4 separate regions of the Homo sapiens genome follow, and regions 1, 2 and 3 are each linked to region 4. Evidence: promoter capture Hi-C in human tissues and cell types (Jung and others, 2019). All regions are on one chromosome and are shown on one strand. The core of a region is centred on a gene start or on the middle of the fragment in contact, and the rest is flanking DNA. Distances in the headings are between cores, read along the strand shown.

Region 1 (2,700 bases), core at 98-2,597, 550 kb before region 4:
CAAAGAAAAACATCAAGAGCAACCAACATTTTTAACAAACAATTACAATTTGAAAAGCACTAACAGGCCGGGCATGGTGGCTCACACCTGAAATCCCAGCACTTTGGGAGGCCAAGGCAGGCGGATCACCTGAGGTTGGGAGTTCGAGACCAGCCTGACCAACATGGAGAAACCCCATTTCTACTAAAAATACAAAATTAGCTGGGCATAGTGGCGCATGCCTATAATCTCAGCTACTCGGGAGGCTGAGGCAGGAGAATCACTTGAACCCAGGAAGCGGAGGTTGCAGTGAGTCGAGATCAAGCCATTGCACTCCAGCTTGGGCAACAGGAGCGAAACTCTGTCTCAAAAACAAAAACAAAAAAAAAAGAAAAGAAAAGAAAAGCACTAAGATCCAGATCTGGATGTTTTATGATGATAAAGAACTTGGTATTTAATTCTTCCCAGAAAAAATATCTAAAATTGTCAGGTTAATACGTTTTAAAGAGGGCTATGCCAACTGGAGAGGAAAATTAGAACATACTTGTAAAGTCCCATTAATTCATTATATGACAGCTTGTTGGACACATTTTTGTTATATATAAATAGAATAATAGTACTACATACTTTCAATTTTTAAAAATATGCAAGTAGATAAGAAAATGCTTTCTTAAACAGTAATAATGTTGCTAAAAAATTATTATTAGCCTATCAGCAATCTTTTTCAATCTTATTTTCCCTCTTTTATGTGGAAGAGAGTATCAACTGACAAATATAACAGCTATCACACTTTATATAATTTTATTGTGTTTTCATGAAAGTAAAAACAAACTCTCATTTTACATCAGAGTGCTAAGGATAGGGAATAGAAATGTGGATTTCTTTTTCACTACCTTTAAGTTGCTTAAGTTACTCAATGTTACTAAAAACAATGTTACATGTCTCTTTCAGGTGAAAAGACAGTATCTCTATTCAAACTCGCCCAAGAAAAAATAAATTCATCGATGAAAGCCATTTAATTTATTGGCACATGCCATATCATAATCAGACAAAACTGACTCAAGAATCTCAAAGGAGGTTAACTAAACTATTTATCTTCCCATAATTCAATTCCACTGTAGAAAGTGCTTAAAGATATGCCTGAGACATAGTAGCCATTCTGTAAGTGTTAAAGAAAAATAAATGAATAAACAAATAATTACATCCCATTGTGGATTAGTCTCATTTGACTTTATTGCAAGCATTTTAAAGGGCTACATAAGATAAATATTAGGAGTCCTAAATGTATATTCTTCTATTTTAGAAAACACAGTGGGAAGAGATCAGTTTGGCCACTGTCGTTAATTCTATGGAATCAGCCTGATTTTCCCCTCGTGTCATATGCCTATACTTGAACAAATACTTGGGTCCAGCAATATTAGATACTATAATTGGAACTCACATCATGTGGAACAAGAAGGGGTATCTCACTGCTACAAGGGCACAGACAATATGTATCTACCATATTTCACTTTTTGAATACCCAGAATCCCCATCATTTCTTATTTCAAGGGCGCAATCCCAAAAAAAAGATCACAAAGGTGAACTTCTGCTTCCAACCAAGATGGAGTAATATGAAGGAATGGGGGAACAATGTTTTTTTGTTTTTTTTTTTTTTTTGAGATGGAGTCTCGTTCTGTCGCCCAGGCCGGACTGCAGTGGTGCCATCTCAGCTCACTGCAAGCTCCGCCTCCCGGGTTCACGCGTTCTGTAGCCTCAGCCTCCTGAGTAGCTGGGACTACAGGCACCGGCCAACAGGCCCGGCTAATTTTTTGTATTTTTAGTAGAGATGGGGTTTCACTGTGTTAACCAGGATGGTCTCTATCTCCTGACCTCGTGATCTGCCCGCCTCGGCCTCCCAAAGTGCTGGGATTATAGGCCTGAGCCACCGCACCCGGCCTGGGGGAACAATTTTAACCCAATAAGAATGTTTTTAAAAAGCCAGAATCCAAACACACACAAAAACAGTTAACATCTTAGTAGTGTAAGAATAAAAACATTCCTCCTAAGATCAGGAACGAAACAGAGATGGACTCTTTAACTACTTCTATTCAACATTATACCTAAAGTTCTTGTCAGTGCAATAATGCAAGAAAAAAAGAAATAACACATTTCCAGATTGCTAAAAAGGACACAAAATTGTCTTGATTTGCAGACCACATGATCATGATACCACTTATAGACAAATCTAGGAAATTCAAGCTCATGTGGAATGACAAAATCATATCAGTGGTTTTCTGGAGACATGGAAATAGTCAGGAGAGGATTTGAAGCAAGAGATTACAAAAAGGCAAAAGGAAATTTACAGGGACGACAGGTGTGTTGATTACCTTGATTGTGCTGCTCATTTCATAGCACAATATATAAGTCAAAACTTACCAAATTTTTCACTTTAAATGTGTTTAATATATGCCAATTGTATCTCAATAAAATGGTTTTATAAAAAGCAAAACAAAATATTTTCATAATATGTGTTAGAGTTCATCAGAGAAACAGAAATACATACACACACACACACACACACACACACACACACACACACACACAGAAAAAGAGAGAGAGAGAGATGGAGAAATGGAGAGAGGTTTTAACGCACTAGCTCATGCTACTGTGGAGCTGGCAAGTCTGAATCTGTAAGGCAAGCCAGCAGGCTGAAAACTCAGGATTTTGCTGTTGCAGTTT
Region 2 (2,996 bases), core at 42-2,541, 590 kb before region 4:
AAAAAAAAAAGACATGTTATACATTTCTTTCTATTCTCAGGAAACCTCTGAAACAAATAGTCATAGTGTCAGTTTATATTAAGTATTGAAGGTTGACTACATACAACGTATTTTGTAAACCATGAAAAATGTCTAAGTCAAAAGGGTCAAGTTTAGGGTCTTTATCCTTCCCAGCAGGATCCTTGAAGTGGGCAAGTATCTATTCAGACAGAAACCAGCAAGGAGAGTAAGGAGACAAGCAATAAATAAGAATTAACTACTAGCTTTGGGAAAACTACTTTAACCAGTTCAATGAACAGATTAAATTTAATGTAAACCATTCAGGAAACAGTTTTTTTAAAAAAAAAACTGTAAATCTCAATACTTTTATCTGATCTTCCTTCTCTGCCCCAAATAATATATCTGGAATATTCCATCACTTTCTTTGTTAGATTTTGGTGTTAGAATAGTCAAATTTGCAGGTATTAAATAGTTCAGTAAAATCTAATATCAAAATTCAGGTTCAATTTAGATTTTCTTGCAACCAGCAGCCAATTTGGTACTGACTGTATTCCATATTTTCATGAACTAGCATGAAAGTGTGTGTGGGTGGGTGGGGCATGTTTAATTCCCTGTGCTTGACTACTTACCATATTTACTCTTCTTCTAGTTCCTCTGAATTTGGGGAACCAGGGACAAGAGAAATTTGAGAGGAAAGGGTAAAGTCTGCCTTGACTAGAGCAGGTATAAATCTGGCTGGTGGTATCTGTTAGAAATGTAAAATGCTTGCTCCCTGGTGCTGCAAAGAAATAGCACTCGAACATAAATTTAATTTTCTCAACAAGGCAATTTTTGCTTTCTGCAGAAAGGGTGCTCCTCACGGATGGAACAATGGCAACAGCACACCTGGACAGGGGAGGGGAAGGAGTGCTTATTCCTGACACAGGGCCCTACTGCTGTGTCATTCCCCTATTGGCTAGGGTTGGACCTCACAGTCTAAGCTAATTCTGATTGGCTATTTTAAAAAGAGCAGGACTACGAGCCAGAGTAGTGGGGTGAGTAGTTTGGCAGGAAGGGCGGTTACAGAACTGGTGGCTCAGGATGAGTCAGGATGGAGCGGGTGACCAGGGGTGACTCAGGTCAAAACAGGTGACTAGGGTGACTCAGGTCAAAGCAGGTGACAAGGGAAACAGACGTGAACTACTGATTAGGACTGGCGGGAAAGTTGTTTACTGAAACTAGAAGGAAGGGAGCAAAGAGAACCAAGAAGTTAAACTTTAAAATGGAGAGTCAAAGAATAAGAGAGCTGAACATACTGACATACTGATTCTTTGAAGAGAAACTTGGGGGTCACTATATTTAACAGTATCTGTGATAGAAGAGAAATCCAGTCCTCACCCTGACACCACAGGACACATGAAAGTTCAAAGGATACTAGCATTCAGACTCTGGAACATTAATTACCCTTCAGAGTTTGTTCTACATGGAACCAAAGCGTTCTAACACCCTCCCCTCACAATTTATTAATATTTCTTGCTACTTACCCACCTTATATTTTTTAAAGATATGTATATTTATATATTTGTTATATATATATATATATATATATATATATATATATATGCTATATTATCTCCTTAAACTTTTCACCACATTTATGCCAACATCTATTATTTTTTAATTTTTAAATTATGGCCATTCTTGCAGGAATAAGGTGGTATTGCACTGTGGTTTCAATTTGCATTTCCCTAATAATTAGAGACGTTGAGCACTTATATGTTTCTTGGCCATTTGTATATCTTCTTTTGAGAATAGTCTATTCATGTTTTTTGCCCACTTTTTGATAAGATTGTTTTATTCTGCTGACTTAAGTTCCTCGTAGATTCCGGATATTAGTCCTTTGTTGAATGCATAGTTTGCAAATATTTTCTCCTACTCTGTGGGTTGTCTGTTTACTCTGTTGATTACTTGTTTTACTGTGCAGAAGCTTTTAGTTTAGTTAGGTCCCATTTATTTATTTTTGTTTTTGTTGGGTTTGGTTTTGGGGTCTTAGTCATGAATTTTTTGCCTAGGCCAATGTTCAGAAGGGTGTTGCTAATGTTATCTTCTAGCATTTTCATGGTTTCAGGCGTTAGACTTAAGTCTTTGATCCATCTTGAGTTGATTTTTGTATAAGATGAGAGATGGGGCTCCGGTTTCATTTTTCTACATGCGGCGTGCCAGTTTTCCCAGCACCATTTATTGAATAAGGCCTTTTTCCCCAATTAATGTTTTTGTATGCTTTGTCAAATATCAGTTGGCTATAAGTATTTTGCTTCATTTCTGGGTTCTTTATTCTGTTCCGTTTGTCTAAGTGCCTCTTTTTATACCAGTACCATCCTGTTTTGGTAGCTGCAGCCTTGCAGTTACCAAATTTAAAGTCTGGTAATGTGATGCCCCAGAGTTGTTCTTTTTGCTTAGTATTGCTTTGGCTATGTGGGCTCTTTTTTGTTTTCATATAAATTTTAGGATTTTTTTTCTAATTCTGTGAAAAATGATGATGGTATTTTGATGGGAATTGTATTGAAATCTGTAGATTTCTTTGGGCAGTATGGTCATTTTCACAGTATTGATTCTCCTATCCATGAGCTTGGGATGAGTTTCTATTTGTTTATGTCACATATCAGGGGATCACAACCCCCAGGTGGCAGATTGGCGCCAGTCAGTGGCTTGTTAGAAACCTGCCACACAGCAGGAGGTGAGTATTACTGCCTGAGCTCTGCCTCCTGTCAGATCAGTGATGACATAAGATTCTCACAGGATTGTGACAATGATTTTTGAGTGGCTGTTCATCACACACTAAATCCCATTGAAAAATGTAAATAAAAACATTAAGTTCACACACAACTGAAAGCAGGAAATAGTGTCAGAAGATCTGTTGCTGGGATAAACGCAACTATGTATTTAGTAAGAAATTTGATTCATTTTAATGCTTTAAATTCTGGGAGACCACTAAGTTCCAGATAGCTTTCCAGACA
Region 3 (2,885 bases), core at 361-2,860, 530 kb before region 4:
GTAGACATGGGGTTTCACCATTTTGGTCAGGCTGGTCTTGAACTCCTGACCTCAGATTATCTGCCTGCCTTGGCCTCCCACAGTGCCGGAATTACAGGTGTGAGCCACCACACCCAGCCCAGCATGTATGTACTTTTTACAGAATTAGGCTAAGTTATATTTACAACTTTCTATCTCAGATTTTTTAACATTATAGGGAAAGTATTTGTCAAGCAGTCAGATATTCAATTTATAATTGTACAAGTCATATAATCATTAAATATTTTCTCATGTTGAATATTTAGATGCTTTCAATTGCTTTCTATTAAAATACCACTTTATGTGAAGAGCCTTACAATTAAAATGTTGATGGCCCCATGACCATTTTTAATACAAACTTTTAGAGGCAGAATTATTTACATAAAGGTCATAGATATTTTAGGGCTTGTAATATATATTACTAAATTCATTTGCGGATTAAAAAGACAGTTTGCATTCAGTTCTGCATATCTATGGCAGAATCTTCTATACCTACCACATAACTATTTTTAATTCTAAACAGAAGTGTGTATGATATCCTGCTATCAAAATTCTTCCTGTAGAATACTTCTTCAAAAAAAAAAAAAAAAAAAGACAAACACCACTTTCTAAATTTTAATGGAAAAATGCAGTGGAAGTTATGTCCTGGTTGTAGAATGAGCTGCACTTTGAACAAGTCAAATTTAAGAAGGCAGAGAAAAAATGTAAAGTATAGATAAAAATTAAGTATTTGGGGACCCAGTAGACAATCATTTGATTAGAGTAGAAAATTAACTGGGGAAATAGTGTGAGACATAGTTGCATTGACTGTGAAAAAAGCAATTAAATACATTTCTCCTGCATACTTGTGTGATTTATTTTCTACCCAAAAAAAGCATAACAGTAATTACAGATATAAAGGTATTCCACAAATCCTAAACAGGGATTACAATCAGTTTGGTATTGGTTTTTCCATTGCAATGATGCCCTCCCACTTTTCATATGGCTATATGTATCATAGGCTGGCAATGTTAGAAATTTCTTACTCTCCACATGGAAATACAGTAGCTACAAATCTTACAGAACAGGTACTCAAAAACCAGATCCTACAGTGAGTTGTAAAAGCCACAGAAATATTAGAAATAGAATTGTGCATCAGTTAAGCTTCTTTATCTCTATTTTGACAGGAGAGTTGTTCTGGGTTTATAGGAGCCTGAAAGTCTAGAAAAGATTAAAAGCCGCTGTTTACCTCTGTTAATCTTCCTAATCAGCAAGTACCAGGTACCTTATGTAATGGAACTGAGATTTCTAAGGCACTGCTTCTAAGTAGGAATCACACTGCAGTGGGTTAGTGACACCCTGCTCAGAAATGGTGCCTGTGCAAAATGTTTCAACTAGCTCCCAGGAGAGCAAAGTCAGCTAGTGTTCACAAACAAACAAAAAAGATTAAAATGTATCCTGAAAGTAGAGCTATGTTTTTCAAAGTCTGGTCTGGGGACCACCTGATTTAGACCTAGAGCAATGGTTCTTAAATTTTTGTTTAGATCCAAAACATGAAGAGAGTTGTAACATCCACCCTTTTCGGGATCCCATCCTCAGAAAAATAATCTACATTTTGGACTATTGTATGATATTAATACAAGTGTGATTTATAGTATCACACTTTGAGAAATACTGGCCTACAGTTAATTGGGGTACTTTGTTCAAAGAGAATCAACACTTTCTGATTCATCAGATCTTAAGCTTGTCCTCAAAATTTAACAACTTAGGAAATACACCCATAACTTATACTAATGCAAGTCAAGTCTTTCATGAAGAGGAAGTTTCTTTTTAAAAGGCAACTCAGTTTTCACCTTAAAATCAATATGTGAGAATGCATTATTAATTCCTTTAAGTCATGATATTTTGAATAAATATTAATCATCTTCACACAAAGAAACAGTTTATGTATATATTTTACATTGATATCAATATTTTGATGTAGGCCTGCAACTCTAGGTAAGTTATTTAAATTATTTGATCCTTAGTATTTTAGGGCAAAATGAGATATTTGAACATTATTGCTGAAAACCCAAACTTTCTTGTTTTTTAATTTATTTTGTTTGCTTTTCAAATTATCTTAAAAGGAAAACATGTTAGAATTCACTTTATAAACTGTTTCTCATTACTGAAAAACAAAACAGATTCGATCAGTGGCAATCAACTCTTGCCACTTATTATAATCATGTGGGGAACTGTTAAAATAATATCTGAGTTTGGGCCTCACACCAGACTAGTTGAATCAGAATCTCTAGAGATGGGATCAGTGTATCATACTTCTTTTGTAAGTCTCTAGATGATTCCAGTGAATGACCTGCATTGAGAATTGCTGGCATGGTTTATTGGCAAGACAACTTTTGGTTCTAAGATTAAAATTTACCTTCTGCATTGAGCATTGTTTACATTTCTATCCCAGCTAAAGCTTGATTTTCAGCTCATCTTTTCTTTAGTTGTATAAAATGGTTCTTTTTTCTCTATTTGCTGGAAATAGACACTAATGAAAGAGAAATATCTAAATCAGTATTTCATAAGTGACAAGCTGCAGTTATATGACAAAATATTTAGAAGCCTACTATGAGAACAGAAAAAACTAGAGTGAAACAGTTGATTTTTCCTGAAATCCATTTTTTTTTTGTCTGAAATAACTTTCTGGTTTTTTTTGTTGTTTGTTTTGTTTTTGAGACAGAGTCTTGCTCTGTCCCAAAGGTTGGAGTGCAGTGGCACAATCATCTTGGCTCACTGCAACCTCCACCTCCCGGGTTCAAGGAATTCTCCTGCCACAGACTTCCGAGTCTGGGATTACAGGTGCCCACCACCACACCCAGCTAATTTTTTTGTACTTTTAGTAG
Region 4 (2,700 bases), core at 195-2,694:
CTGTGTGTGTGTGTGGCGTGGCGGGGGGGGGCGGGGGGAAGGGGGCGGAAACGCGCAGTACTTTGCAGGTCAGCCCCTGGGGACTGGGATGGCTGACTACCTGGTATTGCACTAAAATGCTTGACCCCTAATCACATCCCCCAACACTACACCTTGTGCGACGTGATGAAAGCATCATTTCCAGTTTATTCGACTTTTCTGTTTAGACTTATTCATTATAGCCCATATATGTGATAAGGACTAAGAACCCAGTCTTCAAGGTCCTGTCGAGTTCCAAAGAAGTCCACCCCTCAGAAGATCCTTGGAAGGGGAAGAAGGAAAAAAGAAAGAAAGAAAAATCTGTTTTACCCTATAACAATTTCAGCGCAATCTCCCAAGACCAAGTTGGTTAATTTGTAAAGTCACTCTCATTTTTTCCTCAACAGTGCCACCTACTGTCCATTTTCAGTCATCAGCAGGCTTGTTGGCAAGGTCCAAGAGAAAGAAAGGAGGCGGAGTGGTGGGGGGAGGAGTAACCAAAAAACGAACTCTACCCAGCCTTGGGGCATTGTGAAAACGACGAGGAAAGGCCATCTCCAAGCAAGACATATTTGTCCTCGTCAACTTTGCAGAAGGCTTGCAAAAAGCAAAAGCCAGTTAAGCCATTTCCTTCAAGATGGCTAAATATAAGTCCTCCAGAAAACAATTTTTATTATTTTATTTTTAATGCGCGCTGTTTGAGTATGTTTACGTTAGGGGACCAGATTGAGCAAAAATATACATATAATTACTTTTCTATGTTTTCCGCCCACCCACGGCAGAAACCTCTTTATGAGAAAGGCTTTGACACTTGACGTCAGCTCAGAAACTTTTGAGTTGGCGGGAAGAAAGGGTTAACAAGTGGTGGACCAGCGCGATCTTTTTAGAGTCCCAGCCGGCTGTCGAAGGCTCCAGGTACACACACACACGCACACACTTACACACACACACACACACGTGCACACACCCCTCCCAACTGTTCCTCCTTGGGTCGGTTACTTAGCTGAAGGGCACCATTTGGCTTTAAAACAAATTACTTCAGCGCCACAGGGAGTTTATCGCTTGGAGGGAACTTGTAACGCGGGAGTTCAGGGAAATCCAAGAGGCGAGGGCTCCCACCTCCGCCGCCAGAGGAAAGTAAGGAATCAGGTGGTGGCCCCCTATGTGTCTTGCATTTCTCTGCACACGTTAGCAATCAAGTTAATTGAATTCATTGGAGTTTAGAACCGGCCTGTAGCTCAGAGAAGGCTTTGAATGGCCAATTTCTCTCTCTCCCTCTCCCCCTCCCCGCCTCCCGCTCGCCCGCCCGCCCGCGCTCCCAGTTCCCTCCCCTCAGGGTTCCCCAGTCCACACCTCCCTCTCCACTTCCCTCACCCCCCCACTCCCTCCGCCGCCCTATTAAAACACCCACCAGCTCACTTGTTAAGACCCCCTTAAGTTGGAGGAGGCAGAAGGGCAACAACGGCGGGGAAGGAGAAGTCAAGACGTCTGGAAAGAATTACCCAGTCCTGGCTTCGAGCAGCCCATTGAACCAGAGACTTGAAACAGCCCCAGCCAAAGACTTTTCTCCCAATTCTGCGCTTCCTGGGTTCTGCTGAGTCTTCCACAGGCTTTTTTTTTTTTTTTTTTTTTTTTTAAGACGAAAAAGAGATTTTCTGTTATCGGGGGCAGAAAGACTGAAGCCCAAAAAAAAAAAAAAAAAAAAAAGAAAAGAAAAGAAAAAAGAAAAGTTAATTTATTTTTAAAGCATAATTTTTTTAAGAATTAGACTGAAGTGCAACGGAAACATAAAGAGAATATTAGTGAAATTATTTTTTAAAGTGGGGAAGAATCAAACATTTAAGACTCCCCTATCCTTTTTAAATGTTGTTTTTAAATTTCTTATTTTTTTTGGCCGGTCGTCTCAAATTCATCTGATCTCTTATTACCTCAATTTTGGAAACTGCCCGCCACCGACCCTCCGGGACCACACAGACAGGCTGAGGACGACTTTATGACCAAGAGCTGAACAAGGTACGTTACACTGGCGCGTTTTGGTGAAGGATGAAGGTCCTCCAACAGGCCAGGGAGAAGGAAGACATCCTTATAATTGTTTTAAAATTTTTAAGCCAGTTTCGATAGAAAAGTTGGAAGTTTAAAAATTTCCAACAGACTGAAGATCAGGGAATATTTCAGGTCACTGTCAGGCTTAGCAACATAGCCCTCTTTTCCCATTTCTGCGGCTCTCGCCAGAAATCCGCTGCCTTTCTGGGGACACAGGTAGCCTCTCTGCCTGGGAAAGGCTGCACGTCCTCAGATGTACTTTTCCATTTTGCATCTTCCGGAGCAGCAGAGGGGCTCCAGAGTTAGGAAACAAGAATTCCCAATGTAAGGAAAATGCATTCTGCACAGCCGCCCCACCCCTTCCCTTCTTTTTTTCCCACACACACACACACACACACACACTGTGGGGAGAAAAACTGGAATAGCCCAGCGCGTTTTACTTCTAAGTGAAAAAGTCGCTTCTTGCTGGGAATGCAAAGGGTTAAGCAATCTGGGCTTCCAGCTCCGACAAGCTGGGACCCTGGAGAAGGAGGGTCCTTCTCTACCTCCTCGCAGCTACCATCCCCTCTCGGCCACTCCCCCCTTTCCCGGGCCTCCCCTCCTTTGCACTTCCCGCACCCCATTAAAGTGTCAGGCTCG

What was found. Contacts are between HindIII fragments. The study calls those that stand out against the background at their distance.
Region 1: a fragment that was not itself captured here is called in contact with the fragment with the promoter of HAS2 in region 4 in 1 of the 25 tissues and cell types used here (mesendoderm cells).
Region 2: a fragment that was not itself captured here is called in contact with the fragment with the promoter of HAS2 in region 4 in 1 of the 25 tissues and cell types used here (H1 embryonic stem cells).
Region 3: a fragment that was not itself captured here is called in contact with the fragment with the promoter of HAS2 in region 4 in 2 of the 25 tissues and cell types used here (H1 embryonic stem cells and mesenchymal stem cells).

Annotation. Positions count from the first base shown.
Region 1 is chr8:122,192,930-122,195,629 of GRCh38, reverse strand. No RefSeq gene overlaps it. Among named protein-coding and RNA genes, the nearest start is that of SMILR, 370 kb to the left of the region's middle. The HindIII fragment of the contact is 4,191 bases long and covers 1-2,700 here.
Region 2 is chr8:122,230,445-122,233,440 of GRCh38, reverse strand. No RefSeq gene overlaps it. Among named protein-coding and RNA genes, the nearest start is that of SMILR, 340 kb to the left of the region's middle. The HindIII fragment of the contact is 5,557 bases long and covers 1-2,996 here.
Region 3 is chr8:122,168,827-122,171,711 of GRCh38, reverse strand. No RefSeq gene overlaps it. Among named protein-coding and RNA genes, the nearest start is that of SMILR, 400 kb to the left of the region's middle. The HindIII fragment of the contact is 4,132 bases long and covers 1-2,885 here.
Region 4 is chr8:121,640,184-121,642,883 of GRCh38, reverse strand. HAS2 (hyaluronan synthase 2) reads left to right here and starts at 1,444. Exons shown (of 4, transcript NM_005328.3): 1 at 1,444-2,031. It also overlaps HAS2-AS1. RefSeq lists an enhancer at 162-785. The HindIII fragment of the contact is 13,134 bases long and covers 1-2,700 here.